6 separate regions of the Homo sapiens genome follow, and all the other regions are linked to region 1. Evidence: promoter capture Hi-C in 16 types of primary human blood cells and fetal thymus (Javierre and others, 2016). All regions are on one chromosome and are shown on one strand. The core of a region is centred on a gene start or on the middle of the fragment in contact, and the rest is flanking DNA. Distances in the headings are between cores, read along the strand shown. Region 1 holds the start of OR8B4 (olfactory receptor family 8 subfamily B member 4). Region 2 has its middle 6.2 kb from the start of ROBO3. Region 3 overlaps MSANTD2-AS1 (MSANTD2 antisense RNA 1). Region 4 has its middle 20 kb from the start of OR10G7. Region 5 overlaps LOC105369545 (a long non-coding RNA gene). Region 6 has its middle 13 kb from the start of VWA5A.

The links. Contacts are between HindIII fragments. The CHiCAGO score rates a contact against its expected background, and 5 or more counts as called.
Region 2: a contact is called between a fragment that was not itself captured here and the fragment with the promoter of OR8B4 in region 1, in 1 of 17 cell types (megakaryocytes). The highest score is 5.1, in megakaryocytes.
Region 3: a contact is called between a fragment that was not itself captured here and the fragment with the promoter of OR8B4 in region 1, in 3 of 17 cell types (megakaryocytes, erythroblasts and M2 macrophages). The highest score is 7.5, in megakaryocytes.
Region 4: a contact is called between a fragment that was not itself captured here and the fragment with the promoter of OR8B4 in region 1, in 1 of 17 cell types (erythroblasts). The highest score is 5.5, in erythroblasts.
Region 5: a fragment that was not itself captured here is called in contact with the fragment with the promoter of OR8B4 in region 1 in 1 of 17 cell types (total B cells); the score reaches 5.4 in total B cells.
Region 6: a fragment that was not itself captured here is called in contact with the fragment with the promoter of OR8B4 in region 1 in 1 of 17 cell types (total B cells); the score reaches 5.7 in total B cells.

Annotation. Positions count from the first base shown.
Region 1 is chr11:124,422,963-124,426,903 of GRCh38, reverse strand. OR8B4 (olfactory receptor family 8 subfamily B member 4) reads left to right here and starts at 2,033. Exons shown (of 1, transcript NM_001005196.1): 1 at 2,033-2,962. The coding sequence starts at 2,033. The coding sequence ends at 2,962. The HindIII fragment of the contact is 2,701 bases long and covers 871-3,571 here.
Region 2 is chr11:124,857,281-124,861,221 of GRCh38, reverse strand. No RefSeq gene overlaps it. Among named protein-coding and RNA genes, the nearest start is that of ROBO3, 6.2 kb to the left of the region's middle. The HindIII fragment of the contact is 1,197 bases long and covers 1,577-2,773 here.
Region 3 is chr11:124,833,274-124,837,214 of GRCh38, reverse strand. MSANTD2-AS1 (MSANTD2 antisense RNA 1) reads right to left here. Exons shown (of 5, transcript NR_103862.1): 5 at 2,728-3,941. Among named protein-coding and RNA genes, the nearest start is that of ROBO3, 30 kb to the left of the region's middle. The HindIII fragment of the contact is 2,473 bases long and covers 864-3,336 here.
Region 4 is chr11:124,059,791-124,063,731 of GRCh38, reverse strand. No RefSeq gene overlaps it. Among named protein-coding and RNA genes, the nearest start is that of OR10G7, 20 kb to the right of the region's middle. The HindIII fragment of the contact is 6,328 bases long and covers 1-3,941 here.
Region 5 is chr11:124,079,910-124,083,850 of GRCh38, reverse strand. LOC105369545 (a long non-coding RNA gene) reads left to right here. Exons shown (of 2, transcript XR_948127.3): 2 at 1,211-1,494. Among named protein-coding and RNA genes, the nearest start is that of VWA5A, 34 kb to the left of the region's middle. The HindIII fragment of the contact is 398 bases long and covers 1,427-1,824 here.
Region 6 is chr11:124,100,004-124,103,944 of GRCh38, reverse strand. No RefSeq gene overlaps it. Among named protein-coding and RNA genes, the nearest start is that of VWA5A, 13 kb to the left of the region's middle. The HindIII fragment of the contact is 1,717 bases long and covers 1,469-3,185 here.

The sequences.
Region 1 (3,941 bases), core at 784-3,283:
TGTAAATGAAATCATAAAATATACCCTCTTCTGTGCTTGGCTCCTTTCACTCTCTGTTGGTTTGTGACATTTATCTATGTCATTATCTTTCATGGCTATATGGAATTCTATTTTATTAACATCCTACCATTTATTATCCGGTCTACAGTTGGCTGACAGATGGGGTGATTTCAGTTTGTGGCTGTTAAGGACAACGCTGCAGTGCACAATCTTGGCATGTCTTTAGGTAAATATGCCTACTTACTTTTAGTTAGTATACACAATTTGTTGTCCAAGTCCAGACACTTCTGAGAGTGAAAGGGTATGCTATTAATAATTATACAGAGATAATGAGTGTAAGTCAGGACTGTCCCAGGCGAACTGGGATTATTTTAGGTAGCCTTAGTGAAACTTACAAATGCAGATGCTCCCATGTCTTTGAATTTTTCTTAAAATATTCATCTAGCAGATCATATGGAGAGCAGCTTTGTCATCTGAATAATGGCAGGATTAGACCCTTACATCCATCTCCCATTATACCTTAAGCCTGCATGCCTAGAGAGTAACTCTGTGTAGGGGTGTGTGTGTGTGTGTGTGTGTGTGTGTGTGTGTGTGTGTGTGCTTTCTAGCATATGTGTTGTGATATTTTAATCTCTTCATATATAGTAAAGGCCTGTCTGCGGCCCTTATTAGAGCTGCGAGTAGGTGGTGTTTGTGGTGGAGGTGGTGTGGTTTCTGTTCTGAGCAGCGCATGGTCCAAGAAGCCTTTTATCTGAGGTGCTCTCTGTAGATCTGATCTGACCTTTTCTGAGGGGTCCTACTCTCATAGCTCCCTGTGAAGATTTGGAGATGGTGGCTTAGGTTGGGGCTATTCACTCTTAAATTCAAGCTTAGGCTCTGAGAGTTAATGAGAAAGGAAAAAATGAGTCCCCAAACTCAGCACTGAATAACATGAAATCCCTGGAGTAGAGGGAAAGTTTGAGTGGAACCCCCACTCCCAAGATGCTAGGTAAGCACCGTTATCCAGGCTGTAAACAAAGACAGTGCAATTCCTTCCCTATAGAGACAGATCTTGGAGAAATTCCCAGGGGAAACTGTGTCTAATCAGGTCCCTGAGATCGTCAAGCAGCTTAAATTCCTCTGTGATATGACAGCTGGGGTTCTGGTCAAAATGAGAGTTCCTAGTTTTTTTTCCTGAAGTTGTCAAGACCACCTGGGAAAATCCACAAACAGAAACCATGGTCTATTCCTTGAGCACCTTGGAGCCTGGGGTCTGTAAAAGCTCTGATTCTCAGCACCAAGGGAGTCAAAAGAGGTAATACGCAAGGCTGTGTGCTTTCTGCACAAGCAGCACCATTTTCTCTTTCTGGCTAATGGAAAAAGAGATGGCGTAAGGCCCAGCACTGAGTGGGGCCCGGGAGAAGGAAGGTGAAGGTCCGAATCCTGTCTTTCCTGATGGTCTCTTTGAAACCCACAACCAAGGGCTCTGGGAAGTATGGATCCCGTCTCTGCTCTCAACACTGACCCTGAGGTGAGATGGAATGGAGGGTCTTCGAGGAGGCGGGTGGGATGTAAAGAGCCAGCAGGTAACACTCTTGGCTTTCTCTCCAGATGGAAATCCACTATCTAGTTGGGAGACGGAGGCAGAGAATGGGAGGGCATCCTGGTGACCTTGAGAGCTCTGGTCTCTCAGCTCTTGAGGCAGCGGCCCAGGTTGTACTCTTGGTTCTCAGGGTGTCTTTCTGAGAGTCCCTGGGCAGCCAATTCAGGTGTGTTGTCTCCCTCGTCATCTCTCAAGCAGAGACGGAATTCTTGCTGCCCATGGTAACAGATGCTAGCTTGAATTCATGATCGGCCCAGCAGAGCTGAGATCCTCTCACAGACACGTTGTTAATACCTCAGGGTGGGGAGGTGTGTAGATGAGGGAGGATGGAAGAGAGGGCATCTGCACACTGGCTGGTCCACTAGAGTCTTCTTCCCTTAGCCATGCTTGTGCCTGTCATGACTCTTTGTGTTTTGCCCTCTGCTTCCCCAGACAGCTCGCCAAGAGAGAATGACTCTGAGAAACAGCTCCTCAGTGACTGAGTTTATCCTTGTGGGATTATCAGAACAGCCAGAGCTCCAGCTCCCTCTTTTCCTTCTATTCTTAGGGATCTATGTGTTCACTGTGGTGGGCAACTTGGGCTTGATCACCTTAATTGGGATAAATCCTAGCCTTCACACCCCCATGTACTTTTTCCTCTTCAACTTGTCCTTTATAGATCTCTGTTATTCCTGTGTGTTTACCCCCAAAATGCTGAATGACTTTGTTTCAGAAAGTATCATCTCTTATGTGGGATGTATGACTCAGCTATTTTTCTTCTGTTTCTTTGTCAATTCTGAGTGCTATGTGTTGGTATCAATGGCCTATGATCGCTATGTGGCCATCTGCAACCCCCTGCTCTACATGGTCACCATGTCCCCAAGGGTCTGCTTTCTGCTGATGTTTGGTTCCTATGTGGTAGGGTTTGCTGGGGCCATGGCCCACACTGGAAGCATGCTGCGACTGACCTTCTGTGATTCCAACGTCATTGACCATTATCTGTGTGACGTTCTCCCCCTCTTGCAGCTCTCCTGCACCAGCACCCATGTCAGTGAGCTGGTATTTTTCATTGTTGTTGGAGTAATCACCATGCTATCCAGCATAAGCATCGTCATCTCTTACGCTTTGATACTCTCCAACATCCTCTGTATTCCTTCTGCAGAGGGCAGATCCAAAGCCTTTAGCACATGGGGCTCCCACATAATTGCTGTTGCTCTGTTTTTTGGGTCAGGGACATTCACCTACTTAACAACATCTTTTCCTGGCTCTATGAACCATGGCAGATTTGCCTCAGTCTTTTACACCAATGTGGTTCCCATGCTTAACCCTTCGATCTACAGTTTGAGGAATAAGGATGATAAACTTGCCCTGGGCAAAACCCTGAAGAGAGTGCTCTTCTAATGGGTCTCTTCATATCACTGGCAACCGATTCTCGGTAAGCATGATACTCAAGTGTCTTTCTATTTATAGGCGGAGGAATTTTAATATTTTTCCTCAAAGAGGGTCTCCTCTCCACTTTTAAAAATTGGAAATCTCTTTCCTATACTCTCCTTGAGGACTATATTATTTTGCAACAATTAAATTGGCTCACTGCCTGCAAGTTAGTGTCTATGAAATGCCTTTTGTTTACTGAACTCTGTATTAGGCCCAAGAGATGAGTAAGATGAGGCTCCATGCCTTCCATTCTTTTCTTGGTAGGCTAAATGGGTTTTTCTGAGCAAGAACGTTTCTGGCTGGAACAAGGGGCAGGTGGTGGTATAAAGGTTGAGGAGTGTTTTCTCTTTAGTTACATAAGCAGACTTATTAAAGATCAATGGTAGATACCTTGGTGCCAGTGCTAATATGATTATATATCCAGCTCTTCAGGAGGTTGCTTGGTCAGGAAGATCATAAACCCTCCTTTTCATATACATGTATGTACATAAAAGAAGCCCTCACACAAGAATTTTCTATGATCTGCTCTGTAAGGATAAATCAAATCCAAATCTTTTATTTCAAAGTTCTAAAGCTTCTGGGCCTTGGAATGGTAATCAGGGGTAAGTGATCCTGTGTAATTGGGCCAATTTCTTAGGCTCCGGAGACTCAGGCTGGAAGAAGAAACAAGGAAGAACTCCACGGATTTGCATGATCTGTAAAATGTGGCCTCTGCCTTGCTCTGGAGATACTAAGCACACTACTGGATTTTAGGAAGATTGCTTATTCTTTAAAGTGGATTTAGATTTTACAGTTCTGACAACGTGTGTGCATGTTTATATGTGTGTGTGTGTGTGTGTGTGTGTGTCTGTATGTGTATTACAGTTAATCAATATAGAATCGGAAAGAAAGAGGAGTCATATTACACGTCCCACTCTCAGGGAGTCTGGAAGGGATCTGGATTTTG
Region 2 (3,941 bases), core at 926-3,425, 430 kb before region 1:
TCTACCAAGACTGGAAATCTGGAGACAACTGGGCAGAAATGTTCACATCCCAATACAGATAAAACAAAGTCCAGGGAGAAAAAGAGCTTTCTTGGTTCTTTTTATAAAACTAGATACAGAGCAAGCTTCCATAAATATACACTTGGTGACTATACCTGATTAAATAGTTAGTCCTCACAACTACCCCTGCAGAGCCCACTAGCCTTCTCTCTCTCTCCTTTTGCATTACAGCTGCTGTAAGAAAGTACCAAAAACTAGGTGGCCTAAAACAACAGAAATGTATCCTCTCACAGGTTAGAAGCCTGAAATCAAGGTGTCAGCTGGGCCATGCTCTCCCTGAAGGCTCCAGGGAGGGATCTGTTCTTGCCTCCTCCAGCATCTGCTGATTACCAGCAGTGCTTGGCCTTCCTGGTCTTGAGGATTCATCACTCCATCTCTGCCTCTGTCTTCTTATGGCCTTCCCTGGGTGTGTGTCTCGGTGTCTCTTACCTCTTCTTATAAGGCCACCAGTCATTGGATTAGAGTCCAATTTAATCCAGCATGACTTCACCCTAACTAATTACATCTGCAAAAACCCTCATTTTCAAATGAAGTCACATTCTGAAGTTTTGGGTGAGTAGGACTTTTTTAGGGGGGACAACACATTTAACTTAGTATACCTTATTTTCCTGTATTTCCTTCCTCTTCTGCTCTCTCCATATTCCTGATACTCCCCCAGGGCCCTATTATTTGAGTTTTTAAAATATTCTTGTAATGATAATCATAATGCATGTTCAGGCAAACATATTCAAGCAGTATAAGAAAGTGTAAGATGAAAAGTCTAAGTCCTCACTCCATCAAGTCCTTCTTTATCCTACAGATCCAGTTGCCTGGGTAGCTACCCGTGGTTTCTTGTGTGTCCTTTCTGATTCTTTTTAAAAAGCATATATAAGCATATGTATCTCTATTCCTTTTATTTTATTTATTAATATATTTTTTGAGACAAGGTCTCACTCCGTCACCCAGGCTGGAGTGCAGTGGCACAATCTCCACTAACTGCAACCTCCACTTCCCAGGTGCAAGCGATCCTCCCACCTCAGCCTCCCGAATAGCTGGCACCATAGGCGTGCACCACCACACCCGGCTAATTTTTTTAAAATTTTTTTGGTAGACACGGGGTTTTGCCATGTTGCCCAGGCTGGTCTTGAGCTCCTCAGCTCAGACAATCCACCTGCCTTGGCCTCCCAAAGTGCTGAAATTATAGGCACGAGCCACTGTGCCCATCCTCTCTATTCTTTTAAAGTACAAATTAGCCAGGCATAGTGGCACAGGCTTGTAGTTCCAGCTACTTGAGAGGCTGAGGCAGGAGAATCACTTAAGCCCAGGAGTTCAGGACCAGCCTGGGCAACACAGTGAGACCTTTGTCTCAGATTATTTGTACTGTTCTGCAACTTGCCTTTTTTAACCCATCGATATTTTTAGGGCATCTCTTTCTATCAGTTCATGTATCTCCATCTTTTTTACTTTACTGGCTGGCTAATATTCCATTGCATAGGTTTATTGTACATTTGTAATCAGTCCCCTATTTATGGAAGCTTAGGTTGTTTCTGGCTTTTTGTTTTACAAACAATGCTACTAATAAACATACTACACCTATATCTTTACACACATCTCTAGCTGTAGAATAAATTGTAAAAAGTGAAATTATAGAGGCAAATAATAACTAACAACAGCTAATGTTTATTGAGTGGTTTTATTAATTTCTTCATTCAGCAGATGTTCACCAGGTACCCACTGTGGGCCAGACATAGTTCTGGATGTGCAAGCTACCAGGAATGAGAAAAATCTGAGCACTTTGCAGGCATAATCTCATGTAATGCTCATAGGAACGCTGCGAGGTGGGTACTATTATTTCCAGTTTTCAGATAAGAAAATTATGCCTAAGAAAGCACAGCAAGTAAAGTAACTTTACTTAAGTAACTGCTTAAAGTTACATAGCAAGAAGTATGTGCATTTATATATATATATATACATTTTTTTTTGAGGTGGAGTCTCACTCTGTTGCCCAGGCTGCAGTGGCTCAATCTCGACTGACTGCAACCTCTGCCTCCCAGATTCAGGCGATTCTTCTGCTTCAGCCTTTTGAGCAGCTGGGATTACAGGAGTATGCCCTGATGCCCGGCTAATTTTTGTATTTTTAGTAGAGATGGTATTTCACCATGTTGGCCAGGCTGGTCTCAAACTCCTGACCTCAAGTGATCCGCCTCCCTTGGCCTCCCAAAGTGCTGGGATTACAGGCATGAGCCACCGAGCCCGGCCGCATTTAAATTTTCATATATATCATCAAATTGCCCTTCAAATGGTGCCACAATTGACAGTCCCACAGCAGTGTATGAGAGTCTCTGTCTGCTCACCATGACCAAATATTATGTTTTTATTTTTTACAATTAAATAAATGAAATATGTATTTAATTACTGTAACATATATAGTTAATTCTGAGTGAACTTGAGAACATTTTCATCTGTTTAATGGCCACTTACACATTTTTTCCACGATTTGCTCTCTTGTGTCACTGGGGAAAATTTATTATTTGTCTCATGTGTATATGTTGAAAATTCCCCTCAGTTTGTCATATAATTTTTGACTGAAAAATATTTTACCAGATTTTAGAAAACAAAGTCAAATGTATTAATGTATTTCAATATAGCTTTTCAGTTTGTTTCATGCTTAGACTTTCCTTATGCTAAGATTACAAAAATAGAATCTTTACTTTCTTCTAATAATTTCTAAGCTTTGATATTTTGCATACAGATCTTGGATGCATTTAGAATTTATTCTGGTATGAAGAGTAAGGTAAAAATATAGTTGTTTCTTAGATAAGCAGTTGTCCCTGATTCCTTCACTGATCTGCAGAACCACTTCTCCTATATGCTGAATTCCTATTCATATTCCTAAATGTGAATAGGAATCTGTTCTGTTAGTTCATCTGCATGTTATTCCCCGTGACTGTACTTAACTGTTCAATTATTATAGCTCTGTAACATAGTTTACTATCTGATAGTTTCCCTTCATTACTCTTAATGTTTAGATGTTCTTTGGCTAGTCTTATTTTTTTTTCAGATGTCCTTAATTATTTTTCTATTAAGCTTTAGGTCCTTTGAGCTGGAGCTGCAAGGTAAAATTTTAATAATAATAATAATAAGCAAAGCTATAGGAAATATATATATATATAAAAAATATGTATATATATATATATATATATATATATATATTTTTTTTTTTTTTTTTTTTTTTTTTGAGACAGAGTCTTGCTCTGTCACCAGGCTGGAGTGCAGTGGCCCAATCTTGGCTCACTGCAAATTCCACCTCCCGGGCTCAAGCAATTCTCCTGCCTCAGCCTCCCGAGTAGCTGGGATTATAGGTGCCTGCCATGACAGCCGGCTAATTTTTGTATTTTTAGTAGACACAGAGTTTCACCATGTTGGCTGGGCTGGTCTCAAACTTCCAACCTCAGGTGATTCTCCCACCTTGGTCTCCCAAAATGCTGGAATTACAGGCATGAGCCACCATGCTGGCCTATTTTTGATATTTTTATTGAGTTACATTGAATTCACAGATTAAGAAATTTGACATGTTTACAATATTGATTCTTTCTTTCAAGAACAAATTATAGGCTGGGCATTGTGGCTCACACCTGTAATCCTAACACTTTGGGAGGTCGAGGCGGGCAGATCACGAGGTCAGGAGTTCGAGACCAGCCAGGCCAGCATGGTGAAATCCCGTCTCTACTAAAAATACAAAAAATTAGCTGGGCATGGTGGCGCATGCTTGTAATCCCAGCTACTCGGGAGGCTGAGGCAGGAGAATCGCTTGAACCCAGGAGGCAAAGGTTGCAGTGAGCCAAGATCGCCCCCACTGAACTGAAGCCTGGGCAACAGAGAGAGACTCAGTCTCAAAAATA
Region 3 (3,941 bases), core at 851-3,350, 410 kb before region 1:
GTATATGGACAGATCAGATGAGAAAATCAAGTGGCATTTTATTTCTCACCACCAGGTGGCAGACCTAACCTCATTAATGAGAATCATCCCTAGACTTGAAGCCTGGCCTGAATTCTACTTTTTTCATATATGAGCCAGGGCAAAAGAGCTGTTTCTCTACTTAAATGACTCAGAAATTTGGGGTAGGGAGAACAATGCTTGAAAATATCTTTGTAGGCCGCGGTGGCTCACGCCTGTAATCCCAGCACTTTGGGAGGCCGAGGCGGGTGGATCACGAGGTCAGGAAATCGAGACCATCCTGGCTAACACGGTGAAACCCCGTCTCTACTAAAAATACAAAAAATTAGCCGGGTGTCGTGGCGGGCGCCTGTAGTCCCAGCTACTTGGCAGGCTGAGGCAGGAGAATGGCGTGAACCCGGGAGGCGGAGCTTTGCAGTGAGCCGAGATCGCGCCACTGCACTCCAGTCCGGGCAACAGAGCGAGACCCCGTCTCAAAAAAAAAAAAAAAAAAAAAGAAAATATCTTTGTAACTGCCGCCAATGTACTTGAGTAATCCCTTGAGCTTCCTGATCCGTGAGGAAGGGCTCGCTGATACTTTTTTTTCCTTCTGGAAAGAGGGAAAACATATGGATGTAACAAAATGGGTTACTTAAGAAAAATGTAAGCGATCTAACTTCTAACCAGAGGTTTCTGCCAGGGCATAAACACATGGCAGCCCTAAACAGCTTTGCAGGCACATGGCTTCCTTCACTTCCAGCCCGTCTGGCAGGCACCCTCTTAATTCCTACCAACTTAATTCCTACCACCCGAGTTCTTTGTTCTGTCGCCCATATTGAAGTTTCCTCAAACTAAAAATGAAAGCTTTATTATAATTCTGGAATCTACTCAGGGCCTTCTTAACTAAATTCTAACTTGCAGTATACGGACATGTAGTTGATCTCTCCTTTATCCCAAATGATCTTGACCCTCAGATCATAGTCAACGTATAAATTAAATTCAACCTAAATTATATAACTATAGCAAGGGTTACACACACACAGCAAGAATGCAGGACGGGCGCGGTGGCTCATGACTGTAATCTCAGCACTTTGGGAGGTCAAGGTTGGCGGATCACCTTAGATCAAGAGTTCAAGACCAGCCTGGCCAACATGGCAAAACTCCATCACTACTAAAAATATAAAACTTAGCCAGGTGTGGTGGCGTGTGCCTGTAGCCCCAGTTCTCAAGAGGCTGAGACACGAGAATCTGCTTGGGAACCTGGGAACCTTGAACCTGGAAGGCTGAGATTGTAGTGAGCCAAGACTGCACCACTGCACTCCAGCCTGGGCAACAGAGCGAGACTCTGTCTAGAAAAAATAATAATTATATATATATATATATCTTACAGGAGGGGTCAATGAATGTTTTGGGAGAAGGGCAGTGAAGATTTCTGTTCTACACACCTTTCTCATCTCAGGGCTATATTACAGCAGATTCTGACAGTATAGTAGCTTTCTTCACAATGTCAAGATCAGAGCAGATCTATACCTTACATAGAAGACAGAAAATTGACTATACCAACATCAGGTCCTCCAGCATAGGTGGGACATTACCTTTTCAGCCTGCAGGGCTTAGTACTTCTTTCAGCTGATCGGCTTCAGGCCTCTTCCTCATTTTGGAAAGGGCAAATCTCAGGTGCACACTGAAAATCTTAGACTAAGTAGCCTGGTACAGTGGCTCACGCCTGTAATCCCAGCACTTTGGGAGGCCGAGGAGGGTGGATCACGAGGTCAAGAGATCGAGAACATCCTGGCCAACATGGTGAAACCCTGTCTCTACTAAAAATACAAAAATTAGCCAGGCGTGGTGACATGCACCTGTACTCCCAGCTATTCGGGAGGCTGAGGCAGGAGAATCGCTTGAACCCAGGAGGCGGAAGCTGCAGTGAGCCAAGATCATGCCACTGCACTCCAGCCTGACGGCAGAGCCAGACTCCGTCTCACAAAAAAAAAAAAAGAAAATCTTAGACTAAGTAAAACCCTCCAGCCCAGAGTGCTTCTCTGCATTGGGCAATTCACTCTCACTGCCAGAGCTCCCTTATACACTTTAAATGCTTATAAATACACTAACAGACAGAGCCTATGGGAAACAATATAAGAGGATTGGATAGTAAGTATTTGGTTTTTTCTATGTAGTTTGTTAACAGAATCAGTCAAAATATATTTATGGAATGCCCACAGGCTACATAGCATGGTACTTCACCCTTCATTGAAAATCCATTAAAACAATTACTGGGTCATGCCTGGAAACTTTTTTCACAAAGGAATTTTCTTTAGTTGCTGGGTTGACAGGAACTAATTTGAGATGCAAAACTAACAACCCCATTTGAACTAGCAAGCCCTTATGTAAACCACTACAAGTGATATGTTTGAATTTATTCGCACCTGTGCCTGTATATATGGACTTAAAAGCTAAAGATATCGTGGTATTAATATGCATATAAGGGAAGGAGAGTTTTAAAAGTTAGTGAATCATCTTCCACTAATGCTTGGTAAATGTTTACCAAGAAGGTTGTGCCCTGGTTATAGGCCGGTAATGACCACCAATAAATAAAACTGTTTTCACCTCTATAACAGTTATGGAATGTCATTCCTTCTTGCCTTTCATACCAGGAAAACTAGGCTGAAGAAAAAAATCACTTCTTTTTAATCAAGGCAAAAACAGACTCACCCAACCAAAAACCAACCCTTGGTATTTGAAATTAGTTTATTAACATAGGGAGATTTCATATTTTTTTATTGTTTTCTCCCACCACTAACTTTAAGACTTTAACAACCTTTATTAGAATACACACACAGCTATATATATATATTTGGTTCTGTCTTCTCTAAATCATTTGTTTAACAAGGAATTTTTTTACTTAAGGCACTGGTATAGAAAATGTACCCCATTTCTTGCATATCTTGCATGTTATGGGGTCTTGTTAAGTGTTTCCAAGTTTGGTGGAATCACCACCATTTCTACCCCTGGTCCATATTTTTAGTTCCAGATCTTCTCTGCAACCACTATCCCAGTCCAAAACCCTCTACTGTATTCGCTGTCTTCTTAGTGCGGAGGAGAAAGAAAGAGCAGGGTTGGGCAGAGGGTCTTATTCTGCCTTAAAAGAAGGTTATACTTTCTGTCAAAGGATAGAACTCTGACTGACTTAACGAAAAATACAGTAGTATAAGTTTAGACCCAAGGTCAGATAGTCCTGGGGCTAAAGCTCAGATCCATCACTTAGCAATTATGTGATTTGCTGCAAGTCACCTAACTTCTCTGAGCCAAGGCTGCCCTTCTCACTTGTAAAGTGAAGCTTAAATAAGATAATACATATGAAAGGCTGGGTGTGGCAGTTGCACCTTAGTCCTTGCACTTTGGGAAGCCAAGGCCTGTGGAGCCCTTGAGCTCAGGAGTTCAAGATCAGCCTAAGCAACATGGCAGTAAGCTGTCTCTACAAAAAATACAAAAATATGCTGGCTGTGGTGGCATGTGCCTGTATTCCTAGCTACTTGGGAGGCTGAGGTCAGGAGTTCAAGACTAGCCTGAGCAACATAGTAACAACCCGTCTCTACAAAAAATACAAATATGCTGGTCATGGTAGTGCATGCCTGTAATCCCAGCTATTCAGGAGGCTGAGGTGGGAGGATCGCTTAAGCCCTGCAGATTGAGGCTACAGTGAGCTGTGTTAGTGCCACTGCACTCCAGCCTGGGAGATAGAGTGAGACCCTGTCTCAAAAAGAAAAAAAAAATGCACATGAAATGCTTAATGTCTGCCCTACTACAATGCATCAGAGAATAGAAGTTATTAGTATCTACCGGACCCAAACCTCTGTGAGAATAGAAGCTTGCTTCACTTCTGTTGCTTTGGGCAAAACTTCACCTGTGATCAAGAGAGTATGTGTGTGTGATACTGTGAAATA
Region 4 (3,941 bases), core at 1,028-3,527, 360 kb after region 1:
CAGAACAATTTAGGCCCCAGGGCATTATTGAAAACAACACAACAATTTGTCAGCAATTAGTGGAGCTGAATGGCTAGCTGTGGCCAGGGAAAGAGACAATTAAAGAGAACCCTGCCCAAAACACTGTTATCTGAGTGTAGTGAGACTTGACACCACAGAGGACACAATAGACTTCACTAAAATTTTCTGGCCAGTCACTAAACAAACAAGCAAATAATAATAACATGCCCTGGAGGGAGATGAAAACCAGCACCCAGATGCTAAGATATATTCTCTATAATGCCTAGCTTTTAACAAAAAATTACAAGACATACAAAGAATCATGAAAGCATGGCCCATACATCAAGAAAAAAAGCAGGTTAGAAAACAACAACAGCTTGTGAGAGCAACCATGTATCAGATTTTAGCAACAGACAATGACTTTAAAATATCCATTTTAATTGTGTTCAAAGAACTAAAAGAATTCATGACTAAGGAAGCAAAAGAAGGTATGATGACAATGTTGTATCAAATAAAGAATATCAATAAAGAGAAATAGAACAAATAAAAATTCTGGAGTTCAAAATACAATAACTTAAATGAAAAATATTAAAGGGACTCAAAAGTAGATTTTAATTGATCAAAGAAAGAATTAGCAAATGTAAAGATAAAGATAAATCAATATAGAGCATGAAGCCAGAAAACAGAGAGAAAAATAATAAAGAGAAATGAACAAAGATTCAGAGAAATGTAAAACACCATTAAGCACACTAATATATGCTTAATGGGAATACCAGAAGCAGCAGAGAGAATGAGAGAGAGAGCATTAAAAGTATCAGTAGAAATAATGACTAAAAACATCCCAAATATATACAATGAAAAGCAACAATCTGCATATCCAGGAAGCTCAATGAACACTAAGTACAATAAGCATGAAGAAATCCAGATAAATCATAGTAGAAATATTAAAATCCAAGCACAGGAAAAAAAATGTGAAAAGCGTCAAGAGAAAAAAGACTCATCACTTACAAAGGTACCCCAATAAAATTAGTTTCTCATAAGAAACAACAGAAGCTGAAAGGAGGGGGAATAATCATTTCAGTGCTCAAAGAAAAAACTAAAAGTCAACCAAACGTCTATGTACAACAAAGCTATCTTCAAAAGTGAAGCTAAAAATATTCTCAGATAAACAAAAATTAAGAGACTTTGTTTCTAGCAGATCCACCCTACAAGAAAGAATGAATTTATTCAGACTGAAAACAAGTGACCCCAGAATGCAATCTGAATTCCCATGGAAAAAAAAAACTGGTAAAGGTAATTATGTAATTATAAAAGATAGTATAAATGCATATTTTCTCCCTTCCTTTAACTGGTTTAAAAGCAGTTGTAAAAAACAATGTGTATAAAAACAAACAAACAAAAAAAAACAATGTGTATGTAATTTAGGGCATATAACATATATAAATGTAATATATTTGCCAATAACAGTAGAAAAGAGGTGGGTGGAAGCAGAGCTGTATTGGGCTAAGATAATTACTCTAGACGGTAATTTGAATCCACAGAAAGAAAGAAAGAAAACCAGAAATAGTAAGTAAGAAGTTTATTATAACAAAAACTATGAATATATACTTGCTTTCCTTTCTTCTCTCAACTTTCTTTAAAAGACATGAAATTGGTGGGGTGAGAGAGCATCACGAAGAATAGTTAATGGATGGTGGGCTTAATACCTGGGTGATGAATTGATCTGTGCAGCAAACCATCATGGCATACATTTACCTACATAACAAACTTGCATATCCTGCACATGTACCCCAGAACGTAAAATAAAAGTTGAAGAAAAAAAAACTCTCCTCCATAAAAGTCAGCCATGATACAGGCATTATACTATAAAAAAGACATGAAATTATATAAAATAATAATTATAGCAATGCATTGTTGAATTATAATATCCATGTATGTAATAGGTATAAGAGTAATAGCACAAAAGAGGAAAAAAGAATAGCATTAGATAGAAGTGATGTTTTTGTATTGCTCTGGGGTTAACTTATTATAAATCTGAAGCTAATTGTGATAAGTTATGATGTAAGATGGGAGGCCCTTGAGATAATGACTCAAACAATACCATAAAAATCATTAAAGAAATTAAAATGCTACATTTGAAGTTAACGTAAAGAAAAAAAGTAAAGGAGAAATAGAGGAAAAAAAGATATAAAATGAGGCATAAAGAAAACAAAAAGTAAAGTGGTAGGTGTAAATCCAACTATATTAATATTAACATTAAATGTAAGTGAATTGACAATTCAATCAAGAGTCAGAGATTGTCAGACTGGACAAAAAATCATGATTCAACTACATATTGCTTACAGGAGACACACTTTAGACTCAAAGATACAAACATAATCAAAGTAAAAGCATAGAAAAATATATAATGTAAACAGCAACCGCAGGAAATCTAAAGTGGCTATACTAATAGACAAAATAGACTTTAAAACAAAAAAAATTACTAGAGCTAAACACAGATACTTTTTAATGATTAAAAAGGTGCCTCTGTCAAGAAGATATAAAATTATAATCATATGCACCGAATGACAGAACTACCAAAATACATGAAGCAAAAATTGACAGAAATGAAGGTGTAAAAAAGACAATTCAGGCCAGGTGTGTTGGCTCACGCCTGTAAATCTGAGCACTTTGGGAGGCTGAGGCAGGCACATCACAAGGTCGGGAGTTCGAGACCAGCCTGGCTAACATGGCGAAACTCCATCTCTACTGAAAATACAAAAATTAGCTGGATGTGGTGGCGGGCGCCTGTAATCCCAGCTACTCTGGAGGCTGAGGCAGGAGAATCATTTGAACCCAGGAGGCAGTGGTTGCAGTGAGCCAAGATTGCATCATTGCACTCCAGACTGGGCAATAGAGCAAGACTCCGTCTTGAAAAAAAAAAAAGGCAATTCAATAATAGCCTATTTTTAATAATGAACAAAATGACAATACAGAAGATCAAGGAAATAAAAGACTTGAACAACATTATAAGTCAACTAGACATAAAAAAAAATCTATAAAAACTCAACCCAACAACATAGAATACAGAGCCTTCTCAAGTTTACATGGAATGCTCTCAGGGATAGACCATATGCAAGTCCATAAAACAAATCTTAATAAGTTTAAAAGGATTGTGATCATACAAACTATGTTCCTCAAACAGAATGAAATAAAATTAGGAACTGATAGTAAAAGGAAACTTGGAAAATTAAGAAATATGTGAAAATCAAACAATAAGGAGTTAAATTAGAAAAAAACACACAACAGACAAAATTTATGTGATGCTGCTAATGTGGTACTTTGAAGGAAGTTCGTATTTTGAATGCCTATCATATGAAGAAAGATCTGAAATCAATAACTTAATTTTCCAGCTCAAAGAAATGAAAAAAGGAGCAAACTATATTAACAGCAAGCTAAATGAAGAAACTAATAAAGGTTAGAGCAGAAATTAATAAAAGAGAATTTTTAAACATAGAGAAAATCAATAAAACTAAAAGTTGATTATTTAAAAGGATCAACAAAACTTACAAGACTTTAGCTAGGTTGACCAATTTAAAAAGAAGAATCAAGTTATTAGAATCAGAAATGGAAAAGGAGACATTACTACCAACCTTACAGAAATAAAAAAGACGCTAAAGGAATAGTAACAGTAACTGTATCAATAGACTAGATAACTTAGATAAAATGGAAAAGTTCTTAAAAAGACACAACCTACCCAAACTGACTCATGAAAAAAGAGACAATCTGAATAGAGCTATAAAAAGTAAAGATATTAAATCAATAATCAAAAATATACCCACAAATAAAAACTCGGGACCACATGGCTTCACTACTAAATTCTACAAACTATTTTAGAAAGAATTTACACCAATTCTTCACAAACTCTTCCAAAAAAAACAGAAGAGGGAAAAACTTTTCTC
Region 5 (3,941 bases), core at 376-2,875, 340 kb after region 1:
CTTCTCCACATCTTTGCTAACACTGGTTACATTTCATCTTTTTTATGATAGCCATTCTAATCTGTTGATGCTCCTATATGATGAGGTGAGTTTAGAGGTAGGAAAAATGTGTCTTCTCCCTATGCATTTTTCTTCATCTCATGAAAGAGTCTGCAGTTTTAATAAAATCAGATCAGCACAGAGGTCAGCATGATATGTAGAGGGAGACAGAAGCTAAGGGTGGGAGAATAGGGAAGAGCGTGATTTGCTGGTTTTATGAAGATTTATAAGGTGAAAACATATGGAAAAAATAATGACTCTATTCAAAGAGTTTCCTCTGGGAAGGGTGCTAATGAGGATTATCTGAAATTAGAAAGCTCAATTTAGAGACAGATATATAAAAAAAAAAGAATGCCTGCCAATCCAAGTTATAAATTAGCAACAGTTTTTTATGGCTTTTCTGCTTGTTGTACATAAAGGCTATTTGTTTAGAAAGATTTTTACCTTAAGCAAAATATTCCTTTCATTGATATCTTGTGTCGATTCTTCTTTAAAATGAGAAATCACACAGTGATGTCTGAGTTTGTTACTGTGAATGGCTGAGGGCTGGAGATTGTATTTCATTATCCTGATTATATCTTATAAATTTTGTACCCTTTTGGGAAATGTTATATTCAGGACCCTTGTTTGTTCCTTGGGATTTCACACATCATGCATGTATTTTTTTCCTTGAAAAATATCATTGTGATTGGCATGAGTTTGTCTTCAATTATTGCTTTACCTTCAACGCAGAAATGAGCCATCAATGTTCAGGGTGCTGCTGTCCATGTTTTCTCCTTTCCTTGCCTGTACTGCCCCGAGATCTTCTTGCATTCACTGACACAGTGCCACCCTTTTATTGCCATTGGATATCCACTGCAAGGTATGCACACCATTACACACAAACTGTATATACTGCTCACCACAGGGCCCTGGAGAGGCTGCTAGCTACATGTCAATCTCCTGATGCTATATTAGGCAGCTACCCTAATCCTGTGCCAACGAAGTTATGGCTGTCATTCCCATCACATTCCTGAAGTCAAACTGTGACCTATGCAAGCATATACTAAGCCCTATGCCGGTCTCTCTCTCTGTCTCTCTCTTAGTCTCTCTCTCTCTTTCTCTCTCTTTTCCATTATTTCCATATCTTATATCTGCAATGAAATTGACATACCAAAAATTATCTCTGCAGACAGTGTGCATGGAGCTTTCTCAACCTGCCTTGCTCACCTCTTTGCTTTCTCAACCTGCATTGCTCAACCTGCAGTCTGCAACTCTTTGTGGCCATGGACAGAAGCTCAGACCGAGAGCTCTCTGCGATTCTGTGATTCAGAGACCGAACTTGTGTGTGACCATCTCCTTGAACTCCTTGATTTCTAGCCTGAGAAATGAAAGTGTGAAACAAGCTTCACATAAAATATTTAAAGAACAAACTTTATTCATGAAAATAAATGAGAAGATGATGAACTTCTAAAGGAATTTTGAATATTCTTTTCTTAGCAGCTTTCAAAAAAACTTCGCATTAAATAGTACTGTGTCTTTAACTTCATTCCTAAACCCTGTATCTTAGTATGAAAATTTGCTAGTACCCATGCTTTTAAAGTAAATATAGCTTATGCGCATAGCAGATATTAAATTGCTATTTATCATTGGATTTGCCTGCAAAGTAAACAATTTTTGGTCCTTTTCTGATTTCTACGGAAGAAGCCTTGGAAGAGAACCTATATCACTGCAAAAACATCCACTAAAAATCATAATCTCCCTTACGTCAGAACACTGAATCTAAACATTTTTTAGAAGAAAGCTTACTCAAAATTAAACATTTTTCAATTTCTGTACATGAATAAAAATTAAGAAGATTTTCTGCATAAGGCAGGATTCCTTTTTTGGAATAAAGCTAAGCTATATAGAGAAAAATTCACCTCAATTATCATAATGATATTGCATCTCTTTGTGTTCATATGGTGAGAATTATCTTAGATTATCTTTGATCCAGCTTTTTTTTTCTATTCGTAAGAGGAAAATTCAAGGAATGTTGTTTAAATAAAATATTGGTTTTTTTTCTAATGCATGCTGACTTCTGTTACTGAACTGCTGGCCTGAGGATTTCATCAAAATGTTAAAGCATCCAGTAGGAGGCAATTGAAAAGTGTGTGACTCACTCTTAAGCCTATTGCTTATTTTTATGTACAATAAGGAGGCAGAATTGAAAGGGAGAATGTAGAAAAGAAATTGATAGTGCTCTGCCCAATAAGGCGAGACACTAATTCCATGGTGAGAGAGGCAATCTTGCAAATTATCACGGCTTAAACTATATGTTTCTTCTCATCAACACAGGCTTTACTGATTCTGAAAAATTAATGTTTTCCCATGGGAGATTTGTAAGGCTAAGCAGGTGGCTCATAGGTAGCAAAGAGGAATATTGAAACAAACTGGTGGAAGTCAGTGCTGCTGGATGTAGCGTGATGAAGGTCAGGGTGAAATTCAGTCTCATGGGTAGGGATTAGGCTTTCTAGAAATTTGATTACTAGTTATAGAAACGGGTTAGAAGAAGAATTTTCAGAACGATGTGGGCATGAAGGGAATGAAGCAAGATTAAACACTGGGCATATCTGATTCTGCGAAGGGTTTAACATCTTGGGTGAATTTTTCATGAAAAAACGAATATTGCAGTGTTTATTTTATAGAATTCTCTGTATCACACCTATTAAAACATCTGGTATATATTCACAACCCATGGGTGATATTGTGAAGGATGAAGAAAAATAAACATGAGGGGGAAGTGCGGTCCGTTTCACTGAAGGGAGAGGCCTCATCAGCTGGACTGTCAAACTCATCTACGGACCCAGAGATGTCCAAATGGATCACACTACCTAGATGAAGAACCTGCTCAACTGATCATAAATGAGGCATATTTTAAAGGTTGCCAAGTTCTGTGCAATGTTCTGAGGATACTGAGAGCAACAGAACCTGGTTGTTGAGATTCCTTACCATATGATGTAACTCATGTGATGGGCTGCAGTGAAACAGAGCAGGTCACACGCCCAGGAAGGATCCACATGATTCATATGCAATGCCAGCTTCCTTGTGCTGAAGAATCCTCACATATTTGACTCACCTTTCACAAACAAGCATGGGCCACACAGTGGTGGGGTCTGGAAGCCATGCCTGGGATATTTGATGAATTCTCACTAGAAGTACATATGCTGTGCAGTTGTGCTTCTCATCTGCATCAGTGTCTTAAACCCCATCAGCGCCGTATTGGATTGGGAGTGTCCTGTGAGTTCGTTTATCAGGCTGTGATAACCTCAGAGCTCCACTGGTGGCAGCTCACCCGCATTCTCTCCTCGGTAGCCTCTCCAGGGGTGCCAGGTGTTGAAACGATCAGAGAGCCAGACAGAGCTCAGCAGCACCAAGGACACACAGTACTGAAGGGACACCTTCCAGGGAGGTAAATGAGAAAAGACATTAGATAAAGCCTTTCCCATTATGTCCCTGGAGAAGATGACCCAACAACAGGGAGGGAAGGCTAAAGCTTAGGTTACACTGTGGCCTTAGGAACGCAGAGTTACATGGGGAAAGAACTTCAGGATTAGATTTCCCATGCCATCGATTCTCTCTTTCTCTTCCTAGGACCCAATCAGAAGACTCAGTAGAGTTTCTCAGTGGAACTAGATTGCATCTACCTAGGGAAGGGTAAAATATAAGATCCTCTTAATGACAGTTATTGGGTCAACAGTAGCAAATCTCCAAAGAACTCCGAATTATTCTAGCAAAACCTACATAGGAATGAAATAACCAGAGAAATGGTCAGAAATGAAAATGTACCTAATCTTAAGTGGCATTAAGGGCATTAAAAGTCTTCAGTGATGATAGGTGATAATAAGATGGAAAGTGAGATATCTTGTCAAATACTGAATGTT
Region 6 (3,941 bases), core at 1,078-3,577, 320 kb after region 1:
AGTGTCTTCCTTGTGTACTACATTCAGTTATGCTAAAGCCAGCCCTAGACACAAGCCCTCTTAAGTCCTACTGTGTCATGGTTTTCCTACTGCATCACACTGCCAATATGTCAAAATACTCTTTAGTGTAAACGCAGGGGGAAAGTCTTTCCATCCAGTGTTGTTGAAGACAAGATGGTCTAATTATGGGGCTTAATTGGCATGCTCATTTGATTCTCCCAGCAAGTTACTTTTTGTAACTTAACTTCCAACAAGACTGGAGTTGATAACTGTTTCTCGACTTTCTCAGAATCTAAAGTGAAAGAAATGGTACTATTAATTGGGGATCCCACAGACACGCCAGCTCCTAGTTTCCATGACATTTTAGTTATTTGTAGTTTTTCTATTCCATTTATAGTCCCCAAAGTTCCCTTCGTATTTGAAACCAGTAAACAAAAACAAGTAAAAATCTCTAATAAAAATGCTTACTTTACAAATAGCATGAAGCAAAAAGGATAAAATGAAGCTCCTTCAAGCATAGTTAAACGGTTTTATTGCAATAGGAGGATTCTATGGCTCCTCCTAACTTGATTGGCAAAAATCCAAGATGTCATAGCATCTTATTCCCACACTTTGGAGATGCCTATCAGAGATGATATGCTGGATTCAAATAACCCTAGTGTTAGTTTGCTGTTCTACTAGTGCAGGGTATTTGTAGAAGAATCTACATGTCATGATATCTGGTAAAGCCTGAATAGTGTTTAGGGACAGATGTTCAACACACTGATACTTCTATAACAGATTTCTTTTCTAGACAATGGAAAGTTTCATAAAAGTAGGGATTATGTGTGTCTTGCTCACCATTGTATCCATAGGACATAGCCCAGTGACATAGTAAGCTTCCAGTGTAGGTTTGCTGAATGAATGAATGGATAGCTCTTTACCCATTCAAATTGTGATGCAATTGTATATTTATCGATACAGAGGAACGTGTGCGAAATAATTAAGATACAGAATAATATTATGTCTGAATTTAAATATATATTCATGTTTAGGTAAAACTGATGATATATAAAAAACAAAATCTGAATGACCAACTTTTTGGCTTTTTCTAAATTAGTCTTGCAATGACTGGCACTGAAAAGAGAAACTTTAACCATTTAAATCTTTCCTATATCTAAAAGCACACAACATGAGATTTTATTTAAAACACATGTGCACACATACATAAACACACACAGACACACATATTCACTTTTTAAAATCTTACCTCATTAACAACAACAGCAACAAAAGCAAATAACCTGATTGAAAAATGGGTAAGGGACTTAAATAGACATTTATCCAAAGAAGAGACACAAATGGCAAATAAGTATATGGAAAGATGTTCAATATCACTGAGCATTGAGGAAATGCAAATTAAAACCACAATGACATATCACTTCAATAAGGATGGCTACTATTTTAAAAATTACAATAGTAATAAGCTTGGGCTATGATGTGATAAATTGGAACCCTTGTACACTAATGACGAGAATGTAAAATGGTGCAGATGATATGGAAAACAGTATTGTATTTTCTTAAAAAAGTAAAAACAGAATTACCATATGATCCAGCAATTCCAGCTCTTGCTATACATACAAAAGAAATAAAAGCAGGGTCTTGAAGATACATTTGTACACCCACGTTCCTAGCAGCATTAATCACAATAGGCAAGAGTCGAAAGCAACCCAGTATTCATTCAATGAATGGATACACTAAATGTGGTATATACACACAACAAAACATTATCCAGACTTAAAAAGAAAGGAAGTTCTGACACATGCCACAACATGGATAAGCCTCAAGGACATTATGCTAAGTGAAATAAGCCAGTCACAAAAAGACTGTTTAAATCCAGTAACATGAGGTACCTAGGGTAGTCACATTCATGGAAAAAGAAATTAGAATGCTGGTTCCCAGGAGCCACAGATGTTGGAAGGAAATGGAGAAGTTGTTTAATGGTAATAGAGTTTCAGTTCTGCAAGATGAAAAAGTCCAGGAGATTAGTTGAGCAACAATGTAGATAGTCAAGCAACAATGTAAATAAACTTAGCACTACTGTACTATATATTTCAAAATGGTTAAGATGTTAAATTTTATGCTTTGTGTATTTTACCACAATTTTCTTTTTCTGAGACAGAATCTTGCTCTGTTACCGAGGCTGGAGTGCAGTGGTGCAATCATGGTTCACTATAGCCTGGACCTCCCCACTCAAGAGATCCTCCCACCTCAGCCTCCAGAGCATCTGGGACTATAGGTGTGCACCCCACATCCAGACAATTTTTGAAATTTCTTTTAGAGATGAGATCTCATTATGTTGCCCCCAGGCTGGTCTCAAACTCCTGGGCTAAAGTGATCCTCTCATATTGGCCTTTCAAAGTACTGGGCTTACAGATGTGAGCCACCACACCTGGCCTACATTTTTTTTAAAGTTTGCTTATGCAGTTTTCGCACATTCTGTGGCTTATTAGTTATCTCCTTTTTCCTGTAACTACGTCTACTGTAGTTGAACCCTCTCAAATCACTATTTCTTTATTTTTTATACCTCCATTTGGTGTGGGCAGAGAAAGAGTTTGAGAAGTGTAGTCTAAGGTAGCTTTTCAGAAGATCTGCCTAGAGTAATAAGTTACCATTCATTGAGTCCTTATTCCTCACCAGGCACTGCGTAATTGCTTTTTATATATTATCTAATGTAATTTACCTATGAGTTCTATGAGATCATTTTACAGAAGATGAAATGAGATTTAGGGATGTTAGGTAATTTTCTTTAAGCCACACAATTAGTTTGTGGATGTAGATGGGAATCTGTCTCAGATCTTCATGCAGCTATGCACAATACAGCAAATTTGATGAAACTTTAGAAATAAACATTTGGCCTTCCACACCCCCCTCAAAAAAAAACTTACCCCAACTTCTTTTTTTCCTTTCAATCTCTCAGATGCGTGAAAGCTCATCTGAGAGAAAACTCATTTGTAATAAAATATTCGAATCCCACAGAGTGGGGTACGATTATGCTCATTCTTATCTTGTTACTATCCTCTGTTGGTTCTAATCCTCTGGGTATTCCCAGAAGATACCGTGTGGGGCTTTACCTGATAATTAGAGTTAAAACATGGTTTGTAGTGCACATTCAGGTATAGAAACGTAAGGCAGAAAATGAAGCTTTGTTCTGACATTGTCACACGAGGCTAAAGCAGGGCCTTAACCCACACACATTCCCCGCAGCATTTCTCTGCCCTAGTGATTATCTTTCCTCTTTTTTTCCTGACCAAATATCTCAAAATTCTATAGCCCAGTGATCTTCCTTATTTGTCTCCCTGAAGGTGCTCTTGCGCCCTACAACTGCTCTCCTGACTGTAGCTAGAATTATCTTTCACATTCTCTCTTCCACAATGTGCCGAAACTCAATGCTGCTTAAAACTGTCTTACATTTTCTTAAGCCCCCTAATGTAGAGATCGCAATCTTTAAAGAGCAGAGCCTTTAGTCATCATTTGCTTTTCTGCCTCTCAAGTTTTATCTCAATTTTTTTCCTCTCTTTCCTCAAGTTCTTCAAATATACTTTACATCTTTCCAATGAAGGCTTTGCGCATGCTATTACCCCCGCCTAGAAAGGTTTTCACTTTCAGATCTCAGCTGGGATAACAGTTTCTCAGGGAAGTCCCCTTCTACCTTCAGGGAACATCAGCTAGCCATATAAATCATGATGTGGATACATATTTAATTTACTGATATGAAAGAGGAACATGAGTAGGATACAAATACTCTACCACGATAGCTTTTCAATCCACAGCACTTCTTCCTAGCCCTTACCGCCTTAAATAATTATCATTTATATATGTAGGATTATTTGACCAATGCCTCTCTTCTTCTACTAGACTGTAAGCTCATTGAGGACAGAGACTTTGGCTAGTTCCTGTTC